Regions from separate parts of the Homo sapiens genome. Here region 2 is linked to region 1. Evidence: promoter capture Hi-C in 16 types of primary human blood cells and fetal thymus (Javierre and others, 2016). All regions are on one chromosome and are shown on one strand. The core of a region is centred on a gene start or on the middle of the fragment in contact, and the rest is flanking DNA. Distances in the headings are between cores, read along the strand shown. Region 1 holds the start of SLC25A13 (solute carrier family 25 member 13). Region 2 has its middle 130 kb from the start of SEM1.

The links. The method cuts DNA at HindIII sites, captures the fragments that hold promoters and counts their contacts. A CHiCAGO score of 5 or more calls a contact.
Region 2: a fragment that was not itself captured here is called in contact with the fragment with the promoter of SLC25A13 in region 1 in 1 of 17 cell types (fetal thymus); the score reaches 5.0 in fetal thymus.

Annotation. Positions count from the first base shown.
Region 1 is chr7:96,320,037-96,324,607 of GRCh38, reverse strand. SLC25A13 (solute carrier family 25 member 13) reads left to right here and starts at 2,510. Exons shown (of 18, transcript NM_014251.3): 1 at 2,510-2,666. The coding sequence starts at 2,652. RefSeq lists a silencer at 2,375-2,714. The HindIII fragment of the contact is 9,010 bases long and covers 275-4,571 here.
Region 2 is chr7:96,837,369-96,841,939 of GRCh38, reverse strand. No RefSeq gene overlaps it. Among named protein-coding and RNA genes, the nearest start is that of SEM1, 130 kb to the right of the region's middle. The HindIII fragment of the contact is 963 bases long and covers 2,051-3,013 here.

The DNA of each region.
Region 1 (4,571 bases), core at 1,261-3,760:
ATTTTGTTCTTTACATGAGGTTGTATTTTCTCACCTCCTTTTACACTCCCCTTGTGGCAGCTGGGGCCATCCTCCACAGGAGCTTCAGACTTGTCCCCTTGTCATAATTTTCTCTAACAATTCTCCTGGTTTTCCTTTTGTCTTTTTTTTTTTTTTACTTTTTGCTGATCTTTCTTCTCTGCCTATGAACATGGTCAAGTCTTCTGGGCTTTGTTGAACCTTTTGAGAGTAGGTTAAATAGTTGCTTCTTTCTGTAATGCTTCTTTCTTAAGCTTCTACAACATAATTTGTATGTTGGACATACATTCTCCTTACAGACAGACTCACACACCTCAAAACACTCCTCTTGAATTACCAATCTCAGGTGTTTTTCCAGACACCCATACCACAAGTCTATGTGCAATATGGCACAACTCCCTTTTTCCGTCCCAACCCCACTAATTTTACCTTCTATGTATTCCTCTAGTCCTAGCCCATCCCCAGCCTGTCTCGTCTGGACATCCTGGTAGTTCAGTTGGAACCCATCCTCCATACTGCAAGCAGTGTTTTAGTCCATTTTGTGTTGCTGTAAGGGAATTCCTGAGACTAGAAGAACAGGACGGAAATGTATTTCTCACAGTTCTAGACGCTAGGAAGTCCAAGATCAAAGTGCTGGCAGGTTACGGCCTGGTTTCTCTGCTTCCAAGATGGCTCTTTGAATGCTGTGTCCTTCAAAGGTGAGGAATGCTATGTTCTTATATGGCAAAAGAGCAGAAGAGCAAGAGAGAGTGAACCCACTCCCCAAACCTCTTTTTATGGCAGCATTAATCCATTTATGAGGGCAGAGCCCTTGTGATGAAAATACCTCCCCAAGGACCCAACCTTCCAACACTGATGCATTAGAGATTGTATCCAACACATCAATTTTGGGGGGCACATTCAGACCATAGAGAGATCTTTCTATATCGAAAACCTAGTCATGCTGCTTCCTGACTTAAAACCCTTCAGTTAAGGTGCATACCCTTCAGCAAGGCGCCTAAGACCCACCATGACACAGCCCCTACCTGCTGGGCCAGACTCCTTCCACTAGTCGTGCCACTGCCCCAATCCCATAGCTCAAGATCAAGTTACCTTTTGATATGGTTTGACCGTGTCACTACCCAAATCTCATCTTAAATTGTAGTTCCCATAATCCCCACATGTCATGGGAAGGACCCGGTGAGAGACAACGGAATCATGGGGGCGGTTACTCCCATGCTGTTCTTGTGATAGTGAGTTCTTATGAGATCTGATGGTTTTACAAGGGGCTTTCCCCCCTTTGCTTGGCACTCATTCTCTCTCCTGCAACCCTGTAAAGAGGTGCCTTCCACCACAACTGTAAGTTTCCTGAGGTCTCCCAAACCATGCGAAACTGAGTCAATTAAATCTTTTGGTTTATAAATTACCCAGTCTCAGGTATTTCTTCATAGTGGCATGAGAATTCTCAGTATTCTTATTGAGCCCTGGGAACAGTCTGCTGCCTTAACAGGTTATACTGAAGTAAACATTTATGTGTCTCTTTCCCAATAGCCCTGAAGCTGTTTAACGGTTGGAACCAGTTCTTAAGTCATTTCGGGGTTTCCAGCACCAAGCACAGTGCCTAGCACATAGTAGGAAGGCACTCAATCAACGTTAATGAATTAAACTGATTAGTAATAAGTGCTTTTTGCTGCCATATTACATCCACAACCTACAATACATTAAAAGTCCTTTTCCCTGATCACCACTGTCTTATAAATTTTGATTACAAGGACAGAAGAATGAAATCCTGATGAAGAGGAGTAAGGCCTGGAGGTCATATAAGCAAATTTTCATTAAAATGCTTGTTTATTTATTTTAGTAGGGCCTATTTGGGGGAAGTCTTTTGACCCGGGCCTTTTGACTTCTACCGTTTTAACAGGTAGGGCTGAAATGGAGTAGTTTCATGAATATACGTTCTGCACTACATTCACTTGTTGGGTTCTTAAGAGTTCACCGATTTTGATCTAAAAGTAGGCGTGCCAGCAATATTTGCAATCTCGCCTTCTAAGTCAATGCTTTTGGATCAAAGTCTTTTTGGATCCAGTGTAAAGTGGAGCTCCTTCAAAGGGAACGCACAGGGGAAAAAATATCCAGCAAAGTATGTGTCCTAGTGGAGTTCTCAACTTCCCCAGGCCGTGCACCATCTGTCGTTACTTGCCCCTCCCATCGGTCCGAGGGCCCAGTAGCCCCTGGTATCAGCAGAAGCCAGCAGCTTCCCTGGTGGGGCCACCTGCCCTCAGGTGACGGGCTTGCACACGGCCAAGTTACCTCTGCCCACGCCGCAGAGGCCGCCGCTGCTGGACAGCGCAGCGGGGTCACGTGTCCCTGTCCAGCCACTGCCCCAGGATCTGAGCCCTCCCCGGCTGCAGGGCAGAGGCCGCTGGATCACGCGCACCCCGGCGGCCAAGGCTGGGCCCAGCCAATGGGCGGGCAGCATCCACATGACCCGCGCCGGCGGGAGGGCGTGGGGAGGCAGGCCAGGAACGCACGCTGCCTGGCCGTATCGCCGCCCCCACCGCCGCCGCCGCCGGGACTAGAAGTGAGCCGCCCGGGTCCCAAACGCCAGCCAGCCAGTCAGTGGGTCCCGCAGTCGCCCGCAACCGGGGCGAATCATGGCGGCCGCCAAGGTAACCGCGGGCCCGAGGCCGGGGGGAGCGCGCCTGCCGGATCAGCCTGGGGGTGCGAGAGGCTCGGGCGCTCACGTGTCTGGGTTGGTGCCACAGGCGGAGCAAAATGGGGTGCCGGGCAGCCGTTCCACCTTGCGGCTGCTGGAGGGAGGGGGCCACTCCTCCCGGGCAGCACAGGCGGTCGGTGCAGAGACCGAGGCCCGACCTCGCAGCGGAAACTTTGTGGGCCGGACACTCCCACTTGGCCGGGGAGGGAAGTTGGTGCCTGACGGGGCTGAGCCAGGGCCGACGAGGAGGAGCGGGCGCGACTGGGGCCTGGTGCACCCTGGGCCGGCAAGCGCTGGGGGTCCTCTCTACCTTCCCAGCGCGCTCCTGCTCCTGACCCCGCTGGTTGTTGACTCCGGCTTCTTCCAGGGGCCAGAGCCCGGGCTGAAGCCTGATCCTATTACGTTTCAAGGGCTCCGCCCTCCCGCGGGTGGGGAAGTTACTTTGACTTCCGTTTTGGAAACTGCCTAGGAGACTTGGTCTGCGCCTTTGTGAATAAAAAGTCCAGGGACTCTCCCCCTCCCCGCTTTCCCATCATTCCCATCTTCCCCCTCCCTCTCTCCATCTGACAACACTTAGATACCCGCCTCGGAGCATTTGAGAGGCTTCTTTTTGGGAACGATGAAACAGATTGTCCTGGGAGCCTGTCACTCCTGTGAAGTTGTACTTGAAAGGGGTTCTGTGTAATGTGAATCATTCACTAACCCAGAGGAAAGGCAACTCCAACACTTGACCTTTCCTCTTTCACCATTTCTTGAAACCTGGACACCATTTCAGTCTCTTTGGACTGCATTTCAACTTCTCTGGCAGAATACCATATTTAGTCCCAATCACTTGAATCATTTGGAATTTATTGCTTTTAATTTAAGTTCACGAAGGCAGCCCTCTAATCAAGCCTATACAACTTCTTAGCTCATTTTAAGTGCAGTGAACTTAAATATACCTAACATTTCAAACATTTGTCCTTAATCAAAACTCTGTGATAACCCTCAAGAGGAAAACATGGCCAACACATCATATTCCTATTTATTCAAGCAAACTAATCACATTTGCAATGGAAATTGTAAGCAGACAAATATATTTAAATGCTGTTCTATGACTTAAGTCTCTCCAGGCTCCCCAAATCCGTAGGCTTCTTCATGTTGTTAGTTTCTGTGGTCTAAGTGGCATTTCTCTTTTCTGTAATTACTCTGAGTTTCATCCTTAGGAAAGTACTCTGGGTGTGTGGGCTCATGTATGTTTGCATATGAACACACAGGTGTGCGTGTGTATATCTATCTATAACTTTTCAGCAGTTTCTCTGAGCATCACTAGGATTCAATTTTGGAAGCTGCCTTAACCCTTTCAAGCCCAATAGCCCTTGACCTTTTTTTTGCATTAAATTTGCATGCAACCAAGGTACAAGGCTTGGTATGAACTAATTCCCTAGAGTAGGTGGGACTAGGTACCCATTCTTTACTGTTAGTTTTATATCTGCAGGTAATGTAAATACTTTTACTTTATTAGGAGATAAGGTAATTGAGGAACATAAATTGAGACGTGTGCATAGAAATGGAGTATAAGACTTGAGTAATATTAAGTAAAATAAGTGACCTGGTGCTGTGGCTCATGCCTGTAATCCCAGCACTTTGGGAGGCTGGGGCGGGCGGGTCAGTTGAGGCCAGGAGTTCGAGACCAGCCTGGCCAACGTGGCAAAACCCTGTCTCTACTAAAAATACAAAAAAGTTAGCTAGGCGTGCTGGTGGGCACCTGTAATCCCAGCTACTCAGGATGCTGAGGCAGAAGAATCGCTTAAACTCAGGAGGCGGAGATTGCAGTGAGCCGAGATTGTGCCATTGCACTCCAGTCTGGGCAACAGAG
Region 2 (4,571 bases), core at 1,283-3,782, 520 kb before region 1:
TCTCCTCAGCTACATAATCTGTCCCTCCTTGTTGCCTTCTTAGGTGTAGTACCTAAGTGTACTTAGGTGTAGTACTTGCTTTCATGGAAAGGAACCTATGGAAGTGACAATCTGCATGAACTTCTCAGAAAACTTGGCACATTAGGTCAGGTCACCCAATATCTTATGAATTGGTGTAGAGACCTTTGGAACTTTTCCAAGACCAGGAATAATACTGTGGTACCTTATCTGGCTCCCAACAGGGAGGAATGTGGTCAAATGCAACATAGGGCAGTGTCTCTCAAACACCTGCAGTGCAGTCCAGTCCAGTCTTTGCAGCTAGAACTCATTTCTGGATCTTTAGTCAAATGGATTATACAAATTAACAAGAGCCAGGATTTGATTTGAGCCCAAGAAAGAGTTTAATCACCATAGGGGCATGAACACAGGTCAGTGTAATAGTGGGAGCTGCTCACATCAAAAAAATCTCTATATTCCGTTTTTCACCAAAATCGAGGTTTTCAGGAAATCAATACAGACAAATAAACTCTTCTAGGACTTGCACCACTGCAGTTCATGGCCTCTAGTAGCTGCTGCGGCAGCAGCCTTAGCTAATAACACCTCACTACAAGCAGTTTTAAAGAGTGGAATAATATACGTTATATTTACCAGAGTTTGTACATTACTATTGTTCTTTCTCTCTCTAAAATGATTCTAAATTGGTACTTCTATGTCCATGCCAGCCCCTTCATTAATCTAGCTAGGAGGGCTGGTATACAATCTTTGCAACATCATTATCCACAGCATCACCAGGAATTAAAAATTCACTGTCATTGGAAATAAAAATGATCAACAAAATAATGCAAGACATAAATTCTCAAGCTTATGAGATAAGGTAAGAGAAGGTAAAAAATATAAAGTTAAGTTTGCCATAAGGTTCGTTGGGATATGCCTCTTTTGGGGTGAAAATAAACAATCCTAAAGAAAACTGGGTCTTGCAAAAGAAAATTGAATTTAATATTATTATAATTGTTGTTGATTGGGGGAAAATGTGACTTCTTTTATTAGTTTCATCTTGCTAGAAAAAAAACTTTATCTTTTTAGTTTCATGATAAACCTGATTTTATATTTGGCTATGTATAGATAAGGGAATTTTCAGAAGAGGGTATGAATTTTTCCTAACTTCCCTAATTGATTACTAGCTAGAATCTATATCTATGTCTGACTATCTTTCTTTTGAAAGATCTTTTTTATTCTCTTAATGTCCTCCACTTTTTATTAAAGTTTATCTTTTTCCCTTGCAAATTGGCAAAACAGATACAACATCAACAAACTTATCAAAATTATCTTTGAGAAACCAAGACCCAACAGGGAGGCAGAGTGATTGAATTGATTGTGCAGAGTTTGACAGAAGAAGGGATATTTCCAGATACGCCTCATATGAGAATGCCAACCAACATGGCCATCTACCAAACTAATAAATATTTTGCAAAAAATTCCTTTTTTAAGGCCCGTCTTGACACATAGGTAACTTGGTCATTTTTTGGTTATAAAGGGCAGAATGATTTCTTCAGTACCAAAGAGTCTGAAAACTACATACTCTGATGCCAACTCCCTTGTAAAGCAATTGCCATGTTGGAGGAGGGAACCATTATTGTTCACGGGAGCCAGATGTACCTGGTTGGGGGGAGGCTTTGGGATGCCAGGCACAGGATCAGGCTCTTGTTAGGTGTGAAGGGGTTCAAGCAGATCATGACAATTCACAAAGTGGAGAGTGAGCAAGAGGCAGAGTGAGCACAACATTCTTTTTGTACTCTGGAACTACAGAAAATGTGGCTAAATGTGCAACTAAGGTTTTAAAATTCAAGTAAATTGGAAAGAGTTCAAAGGAGAACAACAAGTTGATAAAGGGTTTGTATGTCAGCCTCTAAATAAAGGGTGCAGACTGCTTGGCATGTTCACTTGAAAGGAAAAAAACCTAAAATGAGGCATAACAGCCTCTAAGCACATATAGGGATATTAAACAAGAGAAATCTCAATTACCCTTATAAGTCATTAATGGGATTAAGCTTTAGGAAAGTCAGAAAATGTAGAATATTTGAAAATCATTCTCTTCTACAGACTCAAAAGGCAGAAAAAAGTAATTCCTGTAGTTCTCCAATCAAATTCTCAAAGTTAGAAGCTACACATCTAGTGTTGGATGTTTTCAACACATATGCGATGAAGAATATTTACATTTATGCCTCATGCCTAAATAACCTATTTGAATATATAGGCATTATGTTGATAAAAACCACAATTTGGGGAAAGGAGAAATACAAATTCATTATCCATGGGATTGACTTAAAATCTTAGAAACAGGCATAGATCATTAAAAAAGGAGCCAAGCACATTGATATATTAGTACAAATCAATGAAAAGAAGGTTAAGAAATAAGAGGAAATGAAATAGGATGGAAACCATGGGCTCTTGAGTACTCCCATAAAGGACAAAAGAAGTTTATTCATTGTAGAGAAGAGAATATAAATCACCTTTATAAATTCACTAAGGTGACCTAAAAGTTAATGTTGCAAAAATCTTAGACCTTTGCAAGAGTTCCCAAGCCTTGTGATGGCTGTGAAAAGCATGCTGAGAAAGCTACACTAATCATCTACAGTACTCTGGATTGTAGGGAAAGTCAAGAAAGATGAACAAACCACAATGAAGCTGCCGAAATGAATCTTAGAAGCCAAGCAGAGAGTGCGTAAAAAAATTGATCTTGACAGATGTGTCAATCAGATTGCAAGTATCTAAACAAATGCAAAATGAAACCATAAGAAAGTCACAAAGGAAAAACAAAATCAAAAGGTTTTGAAAACCCTACAGGATGCTATAGAAAGGAAAAGATATTAATACAAACCATTACAAAGGATGAGTCTGTAAAGCTGACCAAGATTACAAAGAGAATCTCTCTGGAGTGATAATGGTGAAAAAGGGAAACAAAGATGCAAGGATATGGGCTCAGGGTGGATAGTCAGAAGACTTTGAGGAAGCTTACCACATGCAGGGAATTAAAGAGAGGTTGGTCGAGAGAAAAGAATAAAACGTTATTAGGGAATGTGTCTCTTTGTGGCAAGTGCTATCTTCTGAATCCAAACAAGTAGATGAGTGAAGGGAAGATTTGCAGTTGGATGAAGAGCCTTTGAAAGGTACATCGCTGAATCGCAGAAATCAGGCCCTGGCAAATGCCTGTTGGGTAACAGAGTTCACTGTCTGTCTCGCTGCACTGTTGTTCCCAGCAGGTGGCTGGCAAATGCTATGTCCAGTCGGGTTCCTGGCCAGCAGGGCAGTCTTGTACACAGCAGGCAAACTTTCAATTACTATATAAAAAAACTGGACGTTAATACTCATGTATTAACCATCTTTGACAGACAGAATAGAAGTTTAGGCCCTTTGGAATAGCAGCGGAGAGTCTCTGGGAAAAGAGCTCAGGAGGACAGTGTATACTCACTGTAACTGAAATTGAAAACAGATAAAACACTAAGAGCCAGGAACAGAGGAAAATATGTGAAGGAATGGGAAGAACTAAGGGCTTGACCGTTTCTTAGGTGCCTCAGTGAAACTAAAGGTAGGTAGATGCTCAGTACAGCAGAAACCACTCAATCAACATTGACACTATCTCAAATGAAAGACTTAGGCATATAAAATCTAATCTGGGATGCTGATGAGTTCTCTTATGGCTAGTCCATGTGCATTTAATATTGTTACAGAAAAAGTATCATAATATAGTTCTTCCTGAAAATAATAGTGGGACAGAATGCGATCCTGATGTATATTTGTAGAATTTCAGTTTTCTTCTGGTACAAGCAACCACTTCTATTTTGCACAAGGAGAAAACAGAAGGAACAGTGCTCAAAGAAAATTTAAGGCAACAAATAGAGAGGGCAGGCATTTCCAGCCTCTTATGTAACTAGGGACTGAATTTTCTGAGGAAGTTGAGAAGAAGCAAACATCTTTAAAAATACTATTAATAGAAAATCCCTGCTTCAAGGGCACTTTGAGCAACTGCAGCTTGAATGACTGAGAAAACCCACCAATAGTCATAAAAGCCCAGACAGAAGAAAGAGTTCAGCAAAACCCAGAGGAAAAGAGAACTCAGATTCAAGAGTAACCCCTTAACCACATCTAGCTAAGAGTTTCACCACTTCCTTGGTGGCGAGGAACACTGAAATGATCAGAATCTCTTTCAGAGTAAAGGGAAAGTAATTATTCATAACCATACAGTGTAGTACATGTGTAGTTCTCATGCTTTAAAAGGACACTTTTGTTGTCTTCACAACGAAGTCACCTATTGCTGCAAATAAATATCTGAACTGGACAGACTGATTATAGCTGTTGAAATTCTAATATGTAAAGGTGGAAGAGCTTACATAGGGGTGGAGTTACAGGTTATGCAGTGACAAACAAACCATGAGTAAACTCACTATCTTGCCAGTGGGAGGATTTTCAAGCAAAGGAGAGCATGGGTTTCTTGGGGCTTTATTTTCACTTTTATCTGTGTTAAAAATCATGTGAGAATAATTTAGAGACACAAAATTTCTCCAATCAGAATA